Regions from separate parts of the Homo sapiens genome. Here all the other regions are linked to region 3. The links are contacts of gene promoters, found by promoter capture Hi-C in blood cells and fetal thymus (Javierre and others, 2016). All regions are on one chromosome and are shown on one strand. The core of a region is centred on a gene start or on the middle of the fragment in contact, and the rest is flanking DNA. Distances in the headings are between cores, read along the strand shown. Region 1 overlaps LOC107984123 (a long non-coding RNA gene). Region 2 overlaps LOC124901750 (a long non-coding RNA gene). Region 3 holds the start of AGBL3 (AGBL carboxypeptidase 3).

What was found. Contacts are between HindIII fragments. The CHiCAGO score rates a contact against its expected background, and 5 or more counts as called.
Region 1: a contact is called between a fragment that was not itself captured here and the fragment with the promoter of AGBL3 in region 3, in 1 of 17 cell types (neutrophils). The highest score is 6.5, in neutrophils.
Region 2: a contact is called between a fragment that was not itself captured here and the fragment with the promoter of AGBL3 in region 3, in 1 of 17 cell types (total CD4 T cells). The highest score is 6.0, in total CD4 T cells.

The regions. Positions count from the first base shown.
Region 1 is chr7:135,257,671-135,261,810 of GRCh38, forward strand. It overlaps LOC107984123 (a long non-coding RNA gene), which reads right to left. Exons shown (of 6, transcript XR_007060540.1): 6 at 43-4,140. It overlaps STRA8 (stimulated by retinoic acid 8), which reads left to right. Exons shown (of 9, transcript NM_001394401.1): 9 at 748-993. The coding sequence ends at 822. Among named protein-coding and RNA genes, the nearest start is that of STRA8, 26 kb to the left of the region's middle. The HindIII fragment of the contact is 8,504 bases long and covers 1-4,140 here.
Region 2 is chr7:134,718,818-134,723,087 of GRCh38, forward strand. All of the region lies in intron 1 of LOC124901750 (a long non-coding RNA gene), which reads right to left. It also overlaps a transcript of CALD1 not described here. Among named protein-coding and RNA genes, the nearest start is that of CALD1, 59 kb to the right of the region's middle. The HindIII fragment of the contact is 1,676 bases long and covers 416-2,091 here.
Region 3 is chr7:134,984,287-134,988,063 of GRCh38, forward strand. AGBL3 (AGBL carboxypeptidase 3) reads left to right here and starts at 2,222. Exons shown (of 17, transcript NM_178563.4): 1 at 2,222-2,415; 2 at 3,589-3,710. The coding sequence starts at 3,648. RefSeq lists enhancers at 2,124-2,423, 2,434-2,573, 2,654-2,913. The HindIII fragment of the contact is 3,121 bases long and covers 1,166-3,777 here.

The DNA.
Region 1 (4,140 bases), core at 1,386-3,885, 270 kb after region 3:
CCTGCCTTGGCCTCCCAAAGTGCTGGGATTACAGGCATTGAGCCATCATGACCAGCTGCAGTGCTGCTGCTTAAAAAAATATCATCTCCTAATAGGTAACCCATATACATGGCATAAAATTTACAAGTTACCAAAAGATATACAATGGACACTTAGTCTCTCTCTCTTCCTTGCTTCCTACCCCATACCCTCCCCCAGAGGCAACTACAGTGACCAGTTTCTTGTACACTCATCCAAAGATATTCTACAGATATTATATATTCTTTCAAACACAAATAGTAGTAGCCTACGGTACACATTGCTTTGCACTTTGCCCTTTGTAAATAGTGTATCCCACAGAGAGCACGCTGTCTCATTATTTTTGTTGGAAATGAGCTGCATGGTGTTTCATTGGTGGGAGCACCGTGGTGCAGTGCACCGTCTTCTATTGATGAGCATTTGGATAAAGCCTTATGAGGTCCTCTGTCTCTCTTGTGGGAACCTGGAAATCCCCAGGATAAAAAAGAAGCCAGTTCTGCTGTGTCCTTTCTGGAGGTCATAGAATGCTGAGTTGAGTGAAATGGAAATGGGACCTTCCCCCCTTAGAGCCCTTGCTTCCTGGCCCAAGCTGGAGGTGAAAATGCAGCGGAAGAGACGTAGGATAGAGTCTGGGGGCTGGGCACACCGGAGATGCAGGAGCCTTCCTATCTGCCTCGGGCCCAAGACCCACAGATAAAAAGTGACCCTCTTCCACCCTGTGTCTTGCAGGAAGCATCCTTTCCCGTTGATGAAGAGATGATCATGTTGCAGTGCACAGAGACCTTTGACGATGAAGATTTGTAATGCAGAAGAGGAGCTGCGAGGGGAGGGACTGAATGAGGTGGGCAGTTCCCAAGGTTGAATGCTGGCAGCTAAGGTTGCACCTGCCTTGGCCTCCAGGACTCTTTGGAGTGGGTTGTTCCAGAAGCATTTTGATGATTTTAGTTTCTGATTATTATAAAGTATAAGAGAAGCACGGCCTCGTGTTGGTCTTTAGGGACTGTTTGGCACAAAGGGCTGGCCTGCTGCTATTGTGCTCCTATTAAGGGGGTAGAAAGTACAGCTGGGGCCCAGGCCATGGGCCTTTCAAGGAGGACAGGCAGGATCTGTCCTCGGAGGTGACATAACACCAGGTACTTTCAGCATGTCCTGGGCACAGGGCATTGCCCTGATGGGTTCTAGAGAGTTCCACAGCCCACCTGCTCATCCTGCACACTCTGAGAGCCAGGGGCAGTGCTGACCTCAACCCTGTGCCACAGGACAGCTGGGTGGAACCAGATTCATCTGCTGCTCCTGGTAATAAAGTCACCTGAACAGGAGCTACAGTGAGGTCCGAGGGTTCCGAGGGCTTTCTGGTGAGGCTTCTGGGCAAAGGGTGCATACGTGTACCTGGGCTTGGACACTGGGGGTGAGGGTGAATTTTATGTGTCAACCTGGCTAGTCTGTGATACCCAGGAATTTGGTCAAACATTATTTTAGATGTTTCTGTGAAGGTATTGTTAATGAAATTAACATTTAAGTCAGGAGACTTCCAGTAAAGCAGATGATCCTCAGAATGCTTCCTATAGGTTAAAGGCCTGAATCGAAAGAGACCGACCTCCCGGGAGAAAGAGGGAATCCTGCCAGCAGTCCAACTTTGGACTTGAACTGCGGCTCTTCCCAGCCTGCCGGCCCGCCTTGCAGATTTTAGACTTGCACCTCCACAACTGCATGGGTCCCTTCCTTAAAATAAATATTTCACCTCTCTCTTTCTCTGTATCTACGTATATACACATCTTATTGGCTCTATTTCTCTGGAGAACCCAGACTAATGCAGGGTGTGCGGGGAGAATGGGCTTGCATGGCTCTTTACAGTTTTCAAGGCATCATAGCAGCCCCTCCCCTGCACTGAGGCCCTCCCAAAGGCTTGGACTGTGTTATCTCCTAGCGAGAGTCTGAAACACCGGCTAAGTCTTAGGACCCAGACCCAGTCCTGTGTGACTCCAAAGCAGTCCTGAGATGCATGAGCCCGCACTCAAGGACTTCCCCCGGGGTGTGCAGGGATAGGAGCTTCGCAAGCCCTTCACAGCTTACAAATCACCGCACCGAGTGGGCAGAGGGAGGCTCTCCAGGAGCTGGGCAGGAAGGGCCTTTGTGCTCAGGGGCAGCTTGAACTCCTGCTGGAAAGACAGGAATGCAGGAGCTCAGGTTGGCCACCCCTAGAGGCTCACCAAGCCAGCTGTGTGGGAAAGAAGAAATGCAGCTTTACAGAGGGGCGTGCACATAGTAGGCCCTCAAGCAATGTATGCCAGTGCTAGCCAGCCCCTCCCTCTTTGTACCAAGCTCCACCCTGATCCTATTTAGTCCAAGGCTGCGACTTCATTCCTTGAGCCATACCTGCCAGCAGCCCCTAGTCAGAGAGGACCTCAGCAGGATGTGGAGGTGTCCCTTCCCCCCACAACCTTGTGCTGGGTTGTGAGCCCAACAGCCCTCTGCTTCTCTCCTGCAGCCTTGGGTATTGGCATAGCCTGGGATGGAGTTATTGCATAAAACTACCTTCACGTGGTTCTCAATCTCCCTTCCTCCCCACCAAGGACTTGTATCGGGAAGGTATCTTCCTATATCAGTCAGTACTGTAGCAATCAGAGTTCTGCAGAAAAACAGTGCCAATACGATATAGAGACACCGAGATTTATTTTAAGAAATTGGTTTATCTGTTTGTGGGGACTGCATGTCTGAAATCTGTAGGGCTTCCAGGAGGCTGGAAACTCAGGCTGGAGTTGGCAGTGCAGTCTTGAAAGAATGTCTCCTCCCAGAAACCTCAGTTCTGTTCTTACGGCCTTCAGCTAATGGATGGTGAGCCCCAATCACATCAGCAAGGGCAATCTTCTTAATTTAAAGTGGACTGGTTTGTTAACCACATCTATAAAATGCCTTCACAACACCCCCTAAAGGAGTGCCTGATTAGATAACTGGATACTATAGCTTGGCCAGCTTGACACATGAAACCAACATCACGGGTACCCCTTGGGGATTTTTATGTTGTTGTTGTTATAGCAGCTCCCTGTGGAGGTTGGGCCTCTGTTATTACTGCCATTTGACAGATGAAGAAACAATGATTTAACTGAAGCCCCAAACCATTTAATAGAAGAATCTCAGATCACCTCACCTCTAACTCTTTTTATCCCCAATAAGTTAATGAATGGGGAACAATTTTGTTGTTTAAAGTCACAAAAAAGCCCTGCCTCTAAAGAATTAGGATGTAGGAATGTGAAGCCAGCCCTTGGAGTTCACTCTGTCGGCCACTCTGTGCATCACCTCTAGGTGATGACTGGGAGGGGGATCATGGGAGGTCAAGTGGAGGCGGGAAGAAGCAAGATTGGAGGTGAAGGAGGGAAGCTGCGAGGCCGTGGCTCTAGGCACTGCATTATCAGAACAGGGGATTCAGATTCTGATAGCGACCTTGGAATGTGCAGAAAAAGCTCCAACAGATAAATGCTTATTGAGTGCAGATGGTGTGGGCGGGTGGTGGCTGGGCTGAGCTGACATCTAGCTTGGGTAACTCAGTTCCACCTCATGCTAATTGAATCAAGCTAATTACCCCAAGCCCATCTCGTCAATTACTTCTTATCCACCAGCTACTTCTCCAACCTTGATTCTGAACAAAACAAGCCTTTGTGCTTTTATGGAAATGTCAGAAATCTGTCCCTTCTTGCATATGCTTCTCACAAAGCTGCCTTGTTCCTGAAGCTCTGAAACTACGTGTTCTGACAATAAAAAAAAGTACAGCTGAGGGAAGACCAGGAGGCTGTTCCAGGAGAGGGCCTGGCTCTCTTCTCCTGCTGTTCATCCTGCTTTGGCTGCCTGGGGACAGCACGATACGAAAATAAAGTACAGGAAAACCCACTTGGAAAACTGAGCCTGGCTGCCTGGCAGCTGTTTGGTGAGAACATAGGGAATGTTCTGAAGTCCTGGAGCTGTCAACCAAAGGAAAAGGAACAAAGGGCAGAATGAGACAGGATGTGAAGGGCTTCTGTGGGCACAGAAGCAGTAGGGTAAGGAAAGAGGATGGGCCTGCTCTTGACTGGTATGAGAGGCATCCAGGACTCCTGGAGCAGCTAAGCGCAGGTCCTCAGCTCCAGC
Region 2 (4,270 bases), core at 4-2,503, 270 kb before region 3:
AGTTCTTGACAACTGTTTCTGGAGTTTTTATTTCCCCAAAATATTGTCACTATTGCTTAGATGTCATACCTAGATGAATAACACTTGCCAAATAAATTTTTGAGTCAAGTTGAATGAAATAATTACCTTTTACTGGGAACCTATCAGTGGTTCTCACCCATGCTAGCCTCATGACTACTGTGTACACTATAGAGTATTATCTCCATTTTGCAAATGAAGAAACTGAGGTATAAGGACATTATTTTCCCCAATATCCTACAGCTCACAAATGTTAGAACTAAGGTCTGAAGCTAGTCCAATGTTCTTTCTGCCACTATTGCCTCTTAAAACATTTTAGCTACAGAAATATTAACTTTCAGACCAAATTATGAAGGTCACTGGGAACGGAAAAATGATTGTTTAAAGAGAAAATTTAAGCTTCAGAGAAGAAGGAAAGGGAGAAGTGAAGAATAAATAAGGAAGAAAAAAATAGAAAGAGGAGAGACAAAAAGGGATAAAAAAATATGTCCAAATAACTTTACAGGGCAAATAGAGGGCTGGGGTCCCTACAACAAGAGTTGGGAGCAGAACAGGGTTATGAGGCTCGCCAGAGGAACTTGGTGTAGACCTGTAAAAAGTAGCAGAGCACCCAGGGTGAAGCCTAGGAAGAGCCAAACAGCCAATCTAAATAAAGTACCAATCAGGCAAAGGGCTAGAGTCCAGGGAAATGGGGCAGTCATCATTGTCTCCTAGAAAGAGCAGGCAGAGAACAGCGTCCAGGGAAAGAAACCGGTAGTTTGCGAGGGGGGATAGGAGAGATTTCTCCAAGCACAGGAAGAGTGTAGCTGGGCCCATCAATGGCCATTGTCCGATATGTGTTTGTCCATTTTGTTTTGCTTGGACGTCAACGGCCTTGTGTGTGTGCAAAAAAGAGCTTTTAAGGACCCCAATCTGGTTTGGACAAGGTGACAGAAGCCAAAAGTTACCTTGGTTGAGTCTTAAGGGAATGAATTTTGAGAGTTACCTGTTCAAAAGCCAAAATGTTCAAATCCCGAAATGTTCACATCAATCACCAAAGATGCCCCCGAAATGTTCACATCAATCGCCAAAGATGCCCGCAGTGAGTGTTTGTTTTCTTGTTTGTATCTCTGTTTCAACTCAGTTGTACTTTGAGCTACACAGATCCTTCAAAAGAATAAAAGCTGGGTTTCTTAACCCCCGCTTTGGTTAGCGTGTATGCTTTCAGCACCTATGTTTAGTATTTTTTAGAATGTAGCCTTTGTAAACTTCACCCACTGTATTTTGCTGAAGTCAGACTCACCCTTTGTTCACCAGTAATCAGCAAACATTTGTTAGTGACGACAGTGGCACTCTGGTTAGCCCTCCTCTTTTTTTTTTTTTTTTTTTTCCTTGCAGAGCATAGTTGAAATAATTTGGGAAAGTTTCTCTTCTTCAAGGAGCTGGGAAAGAATGATGAATGGGCCCCTTGTTCTGATGCATCCTTCTATTTCCTGCAGAGGAAAAAACTGACGGCTGCTAATCTCTGTGTGTTCAGGAGCTCTACCTTCCTTCCTAATAAGATCGCTGTTGTAATAAGCATGTGCCATGGAGGTGAAGCAGAGTTTCCCATTATTTATTAGGCCTGAGTCCTCATTAGTAACTTCTTTATAAAATAAACATGAGGCTTTGCAGAAATGGGGAACAAGAGCCTACTTCATACAAAGTACAATGATAAATGTCTCCTGTGGCCCCAGATTCCAACGCTTAACATCTGTGATCTCCCCATCTCCATGGCAACATAAAGTAAATAGTAAAAATAGTCCAAATCCAGGAAAAACACAGCAGGGAATGTCTGTCCTAAAGGAAAACAAACGCTTAACATGCACTCATACATGAGCAAGAGGACCCACATGAAATGTAGCAGTTGGTCAATAGGAAAACAACAGAGAGTGGGGAATGAAGGGTCTTCAAGCTAGCAGACAAGAAATGTCAGATGATTTGAAGAAGTGTTGTCTGCTTTCAGTAGGAGGCCTGAAGGGAACATTGTGTCTTATATTCATGGGCTTGTACAGTGTGTATTTTACATTTTGTACAAATGTGTTTTGAATTATAAGCTTGTCATATTACACTAGATTTAAAGGGAACCATAGATTATAAAAGTAATAGCATCAAACAAAGAGTTGAGAACTGGTGATTTGGTGTTTGCCATGTAACTTCTTAGCAAAGCTGTGGTCTGCCTAACAGACCCTCTGAATCTTCTCCCTACCTGTAGCCCAACAGCCTGGGGCTGTTCCTGATATTCGCTATAGGCCGCTGGAACAGGAGGCTCTGTGGCCTCCCTGTGTCCCCCACAGTTGTGGCAAGAGCAGTGGAGCAGCCCTCTGGAAGAGAAGAATGTTCCCCTTAGGGGTGCAAGAAAATGCCTGGGAATAGGATATTTTCAAGAACGGCGATTTTCAGTTAATTTAATTTTCTGATTAACTGCAGTGACTTTGGGCCTTTCAACTCACTGAGCCTGGTTTAAGTCATCTGCAAAAAAAAAAAAAAAAAGGATGGGGTACTTCATGACCCTGGAGTCCTGCCAGCCTTGGAATTCTGCAATTCTATGAATTGAGCACAAGGCATGATTTTGTTTCAGCCTTTGTGGATTAAAAAACTTAGAATTCCTGGGTTTCTACTATAGTAGAACAGTTTCTACTGTTCTACTGCTGGTTTCTACTGCTATAGTAGAACAGTTTACTGGGTTTACTGTTCTACTATAGCAAAAAATACAACCCCATGGCTGTGTGTGTTTAGGGGAGGTGGGGGGGTGAAGGGTGGATGTGGTTTAGGGGAAAGACCGAGGGGGTCTACAGCCAATCCCAGTGACTAGCTGTGTGACCTCAGGCCAGTTATTCCACCCTTCTTGGCGGTAGTGTCTCCATCTCCATCAATGGAGATGATGGTATTCCTTGCAACATTATTGCTGTAGGAATACTGGTAAATGATCAACATATGGTAACCACAATATCCTATCAGATTTGGAGTCAGTACTTGAAGAATATTTTTCATCACATAGGTAAGACTTGATAGTAGTGGGGTAGCTCGTGCTGTGTAATTTATGGAACGCAGTCTCAATACTTTGTGATGGGGTTTCCGTTTGGCTCTAAGCAAGTGTGACTCTACCCTGAAGATCTATGGTGGGGTTTTTCTTTTCATTCCCTGACTGTAGCTTTTTCCTCTGATGGTTTTTCTCTTTCTTAAAGCTAGAGCACAGCTAAAACATTCTAGTTAAGTGAATATCCTAGAATGGCTGGATCCTAACACGTGGAAGTCTTTACTGTATGATTTGTGCACAGACACCTTGCCGGTTATTCACAGGTCGTGTTCAAATTTAAAGCTCACCAGGAGTCAATAGCCACAAAGATGACTTTGGAGCAGATTCCCTCTCTTCTATTGTTCCTTTCCTCCGGCCAAGTTTCTCTTCTCTTTGCCACTTTTTTCCTCTCTTACCCTTTCACCATTCTCTTTTCTCTTTTCTTCTTCTTCTAATCTTTTGATTTTAGTGTTCTCATCTTTCCAACTTTGTGCTGTGCATTCTGCAGTAGTTCGATTTTGTTTATTTATTTATTTATTTATTTATTTGTTTGTTTGTTTGTTTCTGAGATGGAATCTTCCTCTGTCGCCCAGGCTGGAGTGCAGTGGCACAATCTCAGCTCACTGCACCCTCTGCCTCCCAGGTTCAAGCGATTCTCCTGCCTCAGCCTCCCCGAGTAGCTAGGATTACAGGAGCATGCCACCACACCTGGCTAATTTTTGTATTTTTAGTAGACACAGGGTTTCACCATATTGGTCAGGCTGGTCTCGAACTCCTGACCTCGTGATCTGCCCACCTCAGCCTCCCAAAGTGCTGAGATTACAGGTGTGAACCACCGTGCCTGGCCTCTACCGTAGTTTTATTTCTCACTCCTTTGTTACATCTTATTCCACCCCCTCCACCTTTCCTTTCTGCTATCCTTTTACTTCCATTTACCCACAGTCCCTGCTGGGAGGCCTTTTCTATTAGATATATAGTGGAAAGGCAAGTCAGCTTTTCTTTGAATTTAGGAAAATGGGACTCACAGTTAACTTCTGGGGCTGAATTTCCAGAGGCCTTTGTCAGAGAGCCCAGCTGCTCTAGAATGAGAGCTATCAGGATGAGACCTACCAGCTGCCTGGGGTTGTAGTGATTCCAGAGGCACCAGGATTCTAACCAGCCAAGGGAAGCACTAACACGGATTGGTTTCTAATATTAACTATCACCCCCACAGCT
Region 3 (3,777 bases), core at 972-3,471:
CAACTATGTAGAGGACGATACCCCTAACCCCCGAGTTGTTCAAGGCTCAACTGTAGTTCATAACACAGACTTCTCAGTCTATGTACTTGCTGCTTACCCTGCCTGGCAGAGTCTCCCCCTAAGACATCCTACAGTTCATCCCTCTGCTCAAATGCCCCCTAGCCAGAGAGGCCTTCCCTGGCCATTCCATCTAAAAGAGTAACCTAGCAAGGCCCCCCACTCCCAGCATCCCCTATTCTTTTTTTTCCCCCCTACTTGATTTCTCTCCATAGCGGTTATTGTCTGAGTGATATCATTTTTATTATCATCATTGGTTTGTTTGATTACTCCCACCAGAACATAACCTCCACAATAAATGTCTGGTTTTTTTCCTTGCAATAGTGAACTGTCCCTAGTAGGCAGCAGCCATCCAGTGAATTTGTTATACCAAGGCATGAGGATCTCTTGGGACCAGTAGTTTGAGTCTGCAGTGAGCTATGATTGTGCCTCTACACCCCAACCTGGGTGACAGAGCTGTCTTTAAAAAGAAAAAAGTTGTTAATAAAATAATGAATGAATATCATTTTCAAAGTTTTGCCAAGTTCCTAAGTTTTTGGCCAGGCACGGTGACTCACACCTGTAATCCCAGTACTTTGGGAGGCTGAGGTAGACGGATCACTTGACACCAGGAGTTTGAGACCACACTGGCCAACATGGTGACACCACGTCTCTACTAAAAAATACAAAAATTAGTGGTGGCACGTGCCTGTAGTCCCAGCTAGTCAGGATGCATGAGAATCACCTGAACCCCAAAGGCAGAGGTTGCAGTGAGCTGAGATTGCACCACAGCACTCCAGCCTGGGCGACAGAGCAAGTGAGATTCTGTCTCAAAAAAAAAAAAAAAATCCTAAGTTTTTAAAATTATGCATTAAGATCATTTTTCTTCCCATGGACTACTTGGTATGTGATAATATAACTATTTGGACTAAAAATCACGAGACTTAAGTCTCTCAGCCCTGCCATTAATTTCTTATATAACCTGGTTAGACCATTTCTCAGTTTTACCTTGTACAGCTGACATCCTATGGCTTGCAGCCATGACTAAAATCCAACAGAAAAACAGATTACATAAATAAAGATTTCTCTGTGCATGTCACCTTTAGTGATTTATGTATGGCATAAAACAAGCTTCAACTATAAGAGCTACTTTTCAAGAGGTTGATCTAAGATATACTCTATTAATATTCTCTGGCCAAGGTCTAATCTGGAAGGTTCATACTTTTAAACTGCTGACCTCAAAAACACCTATTTTCAGATACTTACAAAATACAAAGAGATTATGTTAACCCATTTCCATGCTTAAGCCATAGTGCTTTGCCCTTTATTCTACTTTCAAACTTGCTACCATTTATTATCTCCATTTCTACAATATCACGAATCTCATGACATATAACGCTTTGTGAAAAGTGTTTATTTACATTCTTATATCATCAAAATCTAGACTTTTTTTCAGCTGTACTTGGAAAACTTTTCCAAATAGATTACCTTACCCTGTAGAGCTAAAGATGAGGGAAAAAATCAATATGGGATGTTCATGAATAACGTCTGTTAACTAAATGAGACTACATATAGTGATTTGCAGTCATCAGGAAAACAGTGTTAAATATGCTAGCTGACGATTGCTATAAAGAATCTCTGAGCTGATAATTTTGAGAATTCACCCTAGTTCATCTATGACTCTCCATTTAGTATTTAAGGAGAAAAGCCTCATTTTCCAGAATCGAATAAGCGAATTAATCGCACAATTGTGTAGAATGGAACTCAGTCTGTAAAAAATCAAGACCAACGTACTTTTTAATATTCTAACATCTCCAAGTAGTAGTTACAAGTATTGTACCCATGAAGTCCAGGTAATTAATTTGTTCAATGTCACACTGTTAAAAGTCAGGTGGGCTCCAAAGCACAGTCCTAACCAGCATGCTCTACTGCCTCCTCTGAGGCAACAGCCGAAGTGCAGACCACTGGGAATAAATAGCTGCCCGGTCTTCCCCACTCCTAAATTCTCCCGACAGACCCCAAAGCCTCTCTGAGAGCCTCTCTGACCGCCCTGCGGCCCACCCCGAGTTCCCGGCATCCTCTGGGATCCCTCTTCCTGGAGCCAAAACCTACGCAGGCTCCTTTCCTCCGAGCTGGTTGCTAGGTGATCTCCGAAGGCTGTCCGAAGTCTCGCGAGGGCGGACCCGTTGCCTGATGACGAGAGTTGGGAGTGTGGCTGGGGCTGCGGATCTCCAGCAGTGGCGTTACTTCTAGCGGCTGGATACCGGGTTCTCCGCGAGATCGCGAGATCCCGAGATATTCTCCCCGCACGGAAGCGACGACTGGCCTGGCCAGAGGACTCGCGTGGGAGCGAGGTGCCGGCCCCGACAGGACGGTGAGGTATGCAGAAGTAAGGCGGGGCGCCCCCTGCGGGAAGCGAGCGCGCCCCGGAAAATGAGCGCCTCCCCACACCAAGGTGTCCAGGAGTGAGTGCGGGAAGGAACTCGGCCGCCCGGAGTTGTGGCCTCATCGTGCTTCCCGCCAAAAACGCCTTGGTACTGTCGGGACGCGGCTAAGCGTGGACGCGCCCGCATCTGCCCCTCCTCCGCAGTGGTGGAAGACACCCGCGGAGCGCCGGTGGATAAGGGCCGTTTCCTGAGACCAGAGCTGTATCCGCAGCAGGTCAGCACTTCGTGCGCCCTGTGTGCACCTGTAAGGAATGGAATTTAGGCCAGTCGGATTTTCCAAATGTGGAGTTGTGATGCCCAGGCAGAAACTTCAGTTTCTTAGGACTGAAGGTGTCATCTATGAGACAGTCGGTTCCGTGGCATTGGCAGTGATTTGCCATAGAGCTTGGACTTAACTTATATGTAGTCCACGCTCCAAAACACGCTTCCTGTAGAGAGGGGCGTAAACTAATAGATTTGAAATTGTCGAGTCCTTTGGTCTCTCAAGAACGATGGGAACTTGACAAGAAATTTCGATTATTCCCTGGTCTTGATATTACCCACATGGGAAGATACTTGCATAGAATGGTAATGGTCATTACCAATACAACCTTCTGGTAGCTATTTAGATTTCTAAGAATAAGAATAATATAAATGAATATTAGAACAGACAGTATCTACAGAATAATAATCAAAATGTAAAGTCTTGTCACTTGAACTTTTGGTCAAGTGAAAATCAAGGAGAAAACTTAAAATTATATTGCTACATTTCAGTAAGTGACTATAATTTTTAAATTCATTATCTTTTAATGCCTCAGGATCATTCTGAACTTGCTGTGTAGTATTTAATTGTAAATATAAAATGTGAATGATTTGGCTGTATACTCTGGAAATTCCTTTTAATTAAATGATTTGCTTGATTTGTCTTATTGTGGTTGTTGTCTCGTATAGTCATGGAAAATTCCTTTAACTCTTTGAAATTGAAGGTTTTATTAGTTGTATTCTAATTAGTTTTTAGAGAAGACTGTTGTGACTGTTAAATACAATTGAATATATTTTTGAGTACTCATTTAATGTAGTAAACACCTACAGCTTGAAAAGAAAAGCTGTCATATAATTTCCTTAGAAATTGTTTTACAGCCTACCCGTATATTACAAGAAATCTCAAGTCAAACACTGGAAAAGATGTCAGAAGATTCAGAAAAGGAAGACTATTCAGACAGAACAATCAGTGATGAAGATGAATCGGTATGTTTTTCTCAACTTTATTTTACTTGGAGATAAAATTTGTATTATATAAATCCCCAATTAAAAT